2 separate regions of the Homo sapiens genome follow, and region 1 is linked to region 2. Evidence: promoter capture Hi-C in human tissues and cell types (Jung and others, 2019). All regions are on one chromosome and are shown on one strand. The core of a region is centred on a gene start or on the middle of the fragment in contact, and the rest is flanking DNA. Distances in the headings are between cores, read along the strand shown.

The links. The method cuts DNA at HindIII sites, captures the fragments that hold promoters and counts their contacts. A contact is called where the count stands out against the background at its distance.
Region 1: a fragment that was not itself captured here is called in contact with the fragment with the promoter of ANGPT1 in region 2 in 3 of the 25 tissues and cell types used here (aorta, hippocampus and thymus).

Annotation. Positions count from the first base shown.
Region 1 is chr8:107,385,745-107,388,933 of GRCh38, forward strand. All of the region lies in intron 1 of ANGPT1 (angiopoietin 1), which reads right to left. Among named protein-coding and RNA genes, the nearest start is that of ANGPT1, 110 kb to the right of the region's middle. The HindIII fragment of the contact is 3,714 bases long and covers 15-3,189 here.
Region 2 is chr8:107,496,567-107,499,635 of GRCh38, forward strand. It overlaps ANGPT1 (angiopoietin 1), which reads right to left and starts at 1,352. Exons shown (of 9, transcript NM_001146.5): 1 at 696-1,352. The coding sequence starts at 992. The HindIII fragment of the contact is 10,393 bases long and covers 1-3,069 here.

The DNA.
Region 1 (3,189 bases), core at 622-3,121, 110 kb before region 2:
CAGTACGATGTTGCTGTGGGTTTGTCATAGATGGCTTTTAATATTTTAAGGTATGTACCTTCGATGCCTAGCTTGTTGATGGTTTTTAGCATGAAGCCATGTTGTATTGTATCAAAAGCCTTTTCTGCATCTATTGAAATGATCATGAGGTTTTTGTTTTCAGTTCTGTTGCTGTACTGAATCACAATTATTGATTTGCATATGTTAAACCAACCTGTGTCCCAGGAATAAAGCCTACTTGATCCGGTGAATTAGCTTTAACGGTGGACTGAATAAAGAAAATATGGTACTTATACACCATAGAATACTACACAGATATTAAAAAAAAATCAGATCCTGGCCTCTGCAACAACATGGATGGAGCTGGAAGCCATTATCCTAGGTTAGTTGATGCAGGAACAGAAAAGCAAACACTACATGTTCTTACTGTTAAATGGGCTAAACACTGAGTACATGTGGACAAAAAGAAGGGAACAATAGACAAGAGGGCCCATTTGAGGATGGAGGGTAGGAGGAGTGAGAATTGAAAAACTAGCTCTCAGGTATTATGCTAGTTAGCTGGATGACAAAATTATCTGTATAGCAAACCCCTGCAACATGCAATTTACCCATGTAACAAACCTGCATGTTGTACACCTTGAATATAAAATAAAATTGGAAAGAAAAAACACATTTATTTACAAGTACACAGCAAGAGAAAAAAGAAGAGAGGCTGCCTTAAAATTTAAAGTACTTCACAAACTGCTGGTAGCCCTTGAGTTGAGCATCCAATAGGTGGTGTTTCAATGGTGTATTTGTTAGAGATAAGCCAACCTTAAATCACATAGGTTAGAAATAAGCCAACCTTAATGATTAAGAACGATGACTCTGGAGTCAGCTTGCCTGGAGTTGAATCTTACTCAAACACTTAACTTCAAGTGTGGTATTAATTGTACGAATGATAATTATACCTAAGATTTGGAAGAGGATCAATACATATAGAGCATTCATTATAGTGCCTAGCATATATAAAGTCTTAGCAAATGTTAGCTATTATTATACACTAACACAGTCTCGAAGTCAGTAACTAGTTAATACAATTTGCAGAGTGCCTTTCTCTGACAGACTACAGGGTATTCTCTTTTGGAATTAATATACAGTAAAAACTGAGTAATCTATGGTAACGTGATATAATTGTATTATTTTTGAGAGTGTATTAATTTATTAAAAACAAGTTATTAGACACAAACTATGTGCCAGCTACTGTGCTAATGCTAGGTTACAAAAATAAATGATATTCCTTTAATAATTCTTAGTTTAGTGGGCTAAATAGACAGGTAAACTATAAAAACCCATAACTGAAATGTGTGCACAGCACTGTGAAAACAAAAGTAAAACACCCTAAGTAGTCGGGAAAGGCTCCACAGAAGGGATAATTTTTAAAGCAAACCTTAAACAAAGTGGTAGAAGACAGAGAAAGGAAGATACTAAGGATCAAAGGTGCCAAGTATGAGCAACGTTGATGAAATGACCTGAAGATATTCTCCAAGTTCAGATTCCTTTGTTTGAGTTCAGATCCCTGCTGTATTGAAACAAAATAGGAGTTGCTAACTTCTTCACATGAATTCTTCCTCTTTTGTGCCTATTGTTAAAGCATTATTGACATAAAAGGCCAAAATGCTAGCAAGTACCTTTCTGTGTGCACTGCAAAATCCCTGGGCAGCAAAACTTTCAAGCAAATAATTCTTAAACTGAAATAACAGTTTATACTTGTTGATCATTTGGGAGAATTATAATATTACCAATGGTACAATAGACTATTTGTAATAGTAATAAATAGTACGATAGCACGAATCATACTATAGTACGATCGTACTATTTATTTTTGCTCAAGATTGTGAATAATTGACACTAACATTGATTATTCACAATCTTGAGCAAGGATAAACCGAAAAAAGCTTTGACAGAGAAAAAAATGGTAGGAAATGTTGAAAGAATTCAGATTCTGGCTGTGCATGCTATTTAAAGACTTCATTCCAAGCAATACTATAATCTCTACCTAGGTTTTTTTTTAAGATTAAATTTTGTATTATAGGAGGAACTATTGATGCTGTTCTTTACTTTTCCCCACAACTTTAAAAATAAATTTCTTTGAAGTAAATAAGTAAAATGTCTGAATCCCAACTCCTTTCTAAATTTTCAGTGTCTTAAAGAATATTTTGGGAATCTGTTATATATTTCTGGGTTTTGGTCGACCTATTTAAGAGTATGAATAAGTTAGACAATAATTGCCAGTAATCTATATTAATTGTTTCTCAAGTTTGCTCAATTTATAATGAGATGAAAATTTTTTTATGAAGAAACTAATTCATATTTTCACAACTTAGTTTTTAGTAACATGAATTGCATACAAATCATAATTATGAGTAACAAACGGTGGTCTCAACAGCTTTGGATAAAGTTCCTGAAACAAAATATTATACAGTATATCTGAGACCGGGCAACATAGCAAGACCCTGTCTCTACAAAAACTTAAAAAGAATTAGCTGGACATGGTGGCATGTACCTACGGTCCTAGCTACTTCAGAGGCTGAGGTGGGAGGATCACTTGAGCCCAAGAATTTTAGGTCATAGTGAGCTATGATTGCACCACTGCGCTCCAGTTTAGGTGAGAGAGCAAGACCCCATTTCCAAATTATTTTTTAATAAAAATAAATAAATAAATAAATAAAACAAAATATCCTAGTCAATGATCAATATACCTGAAAGGAGTCAGGTTCCATTTTGTAAACAGAAGCTTATTCTGAGCCATCCTTCTCAAAACATCTTAGCTCGTTGTCATTTGAAAAAATACCCCAAACCGCCTGATTATACCGTTCCTGTACACCACTTTTATGGACTTTGCATAGCATAGTCTCTAGAGTGGACCTGCTTTATTGCAGAATTTTCAACGCACACCCGTGAATCTGTAAAGAGATTGAGACAGTAACATTCTGTATCCTGGCAGAGATTAGTGGCAGAGCCGAATTGATTGGCTGAAGAGTATGGAGCATTTCCTGTGTTATTTTCCTGCTGCTAAAAACTCTTTCTGCAATGTATGGATCAAATTAACACTAGAAGTTACTCCTTTAATTTCTTTGATATGAAATAGTAAAGTATTACCAGAAGGGCAGTTTCAAAAATCATTATTGTACACTTTTGTTCAAAGGA
Region 2 (3,069 bases), core at 102-2,601:
ATGTCTTCCTCAACAGCCAGCATGCCCTCATCGTGAGCGAGCAACCCCTTTCCGACAGTTAACATTACAATGTATCTTTTTAATTTTTTTTCTCAAGGACAGAAGAAAAAAATATTTAACAGAAATCAGTCTACTATTCTACCACTTGCTGAAACTAACAGTTCCCTTTACATAAATATACAATTTCTCCAACCAAATATCATATTTTATATTTACTCTCACTTCATGTTAATTTTTATAAAGGTTAAAAAAACAAATACTTTGTGATGATTTGCCACCCCAGCGGCACAAAATTTTCTGGTGCAAAATCGATTTGATCTTATTAATTAATATTGTCATTATTATTTATTTTTCACCAACTTGCTTAAGAGGTACATACTTTCTTTCTTAAGGTAGTGTTTTGACAGAGAGAACCTTAATGCTGAACTTTAGAAAAGAGAAACCAAAAATGTCATAAAATTTGCCAGGGCTAGACACACAAACGGGGTGCCCCCACACATTCATAGGTTTGGGCAAGCCCCCAAACCTTGGCTTACCCAGGAAGCCAAACCCAGACAGCCGTCTTGCAATTGCAAACACTGCCCCCCTGGAGCAAAAGGTAAATACACAAATGCTCCCCTAAGGAACTTTAAGTTAGCTGCAGTGCAAGAAAGGAAAAAGGTCCGTGCTATTAGAAACTGAAAGCAATCACTTACTTTTTGCAGCCACTGAGTATAATTTTCCATCACATGTTCCAGATGTTGAAGTTTCTGGGAAGAGAAATCCGGTTCCACGTGTGGAGCATCTCTCTGCAGAGCGTTTGTGTTGTACTGGTCTGTCGTACTCTCACGACAGTTGCCATCGTGTTCTGGAAGAATGAAAGTGTAGGCACATTGCCCATGTTGAATCCGGTTATATCTTCTCCCACTGTTTTCTGGACTTCGGCGCTGATTGCTGCACCCTATGTGAGTCAGAATGGCAGCGAGGAAAGCAAAGGAAAGGAAAACTGTCATTGTACTGCCAGCACACTCCTTCCGTGCCTCTCGCAAAACTTGCTCCTTTCTTCTGACCTCTAAAACTAGTTCTTTATTTCAGGTAAAACTGCTTGTTTGTTTGACTCTTTCCCCCTCAAAGAAAGCGTTTGAAGAAGAATCATAGAAAACTAGCCATTTGTTAGCTTTGTTCTAAAATTTTAAAATTTTTTATTTCACTGCAATGATGTTTTTCTTCGTTAAAACTTGAGATATTTATTGCATAGTAGCTGAGATTTATTGTTTCCTCTCTGTGTGACCGTTCAGCATGGAGCCTGCCTGAGTCAGCTGCGTGTACATATTCTAGACCCTTTCCTCTACCCTATCTGCTGCAGATCTGCTATTTTCTCCCAGACCTCAGTGAGTTTTATTAAGGTTGCACATCCAAGCCAAGCTGGAAGCAGGCAGCCTTTCACAAGATGACTTGACAGGAATGCATGAGTGTGCCCCTATACTAAGGATTGCTGATGGCTTAGGGCGGCGGGATCGTCTTACAAATTGGCTAGATGCGCATGACCTCGATCATGTATGGCCCTCCCGCCCCTTTCCACAGACAATTGCCTTGAGCCTTTAGCAGATTCATGGCAAATCAATAAATAGAGCAGTCCACCTTAATACACTTTTGGTGTGCATGCTGACCTACTAAAATATAGCAAACTAGCAGTATGTTTTTAAAGTTACTATTTAGTCGAGGGACCCTAAGAAGAAAATTGGCATAATGTCCAATGGAATTATTTTTGATAGAGAATGATAAACCCATATCATTATTAAATGTCTTTAAAAAACATGTATTCTTGACTCTGAGGAAAAATATGTTAAAAAACAGTTTTTACAGATGGTATTCTTTCATTGTATTCACTTAGACTTTTAGGAGTTGAAGAAAATAATCAGAGAGGATCAAATTAGCAAGAAAATTAGCATCATTTGTTGCTCAAAGCAATATGTTGCACAAAGCAATATAGTATGTGCATATTAAAGAGGGTTATCTAAGTACCTTTTGGTATAGGGTTCTTAAATGAAACTGGTGTCCTGATCAGAATGCAACCCTTCATGTTCTGTGTATATAAATTGAGCAACTTCCCTACAAAAACAATGTGGCTACAATTTAAAGCAGTGGCTTGAGAATTATTAATTCCTGTGGTATATCCTAATCCTGTATTTTACAAGGATCTCTTTGGTGGCTATGGCTGTCTTTAACACTGGTGTGGAAGTTCCACATAAAAACCTCCTGTGGCTGCACAGACATACTATGTGAGAACAAGCATATATCAGGTGTGCTAACAGCCAGCAATGGGCTGTACAGGAGACATCTCTGTGCTTCTGTGAAGGAAGAAAGAAAAATTATCAGAAGATGATTTCCCACAGGCAGCGTATAAACATTTGAACAAAGGGACCCATAAACATAAACAGGCAATAATTGTAGAATTTAGGGAACGGCTTTGAGATCTTTACTAGATGCAGAAAACCTGAATTATGAGTTGGGATTTTCATTAGGAACTGGGAGGGCTTTTAGACAACTGCAGTCATGGTGTGAAAACAGAAGCCACAGCTGTCATCTCCCATGTCTTGGAAGGAGAACAGGGCAGTGGGTGAAGGTCCGTAGTGGTTAGAGATGGGCATTTAGGGAGAAGTTAGAGGAGAGGTCAAAACAAATTCCAGAACAAATGCGATTTACTTGGGGAAAGAAACCTTGCCGAGATTCATCAGTCCTTTCCACACCAAATAACAAATTTCTGATTGGACAGATATGGAAGCAAGTTATGCCAAACACAGCAATAAAATATTTGAACCACTTTTGCAGCCTCTTGAACTTTTGCGTGTCTCCTCATTGAGTCATGTATCACTCCTGTGCAACAATAATAATGGCATGCATTAAGACCTTACTGTTTTCCAGGCGAAGCACTCCTTACACACTATCTCACTTAATCATTCCAACAAACCTAAGATCACGGATATCATCCGTTTAACCCCATTTTATCAATGGGAAGACTGAGTCACAGAAAGGCTAACAGGATGTAATTCACAGAGCTGGCAAGTGATGGCGCCAGTATGTGAACTC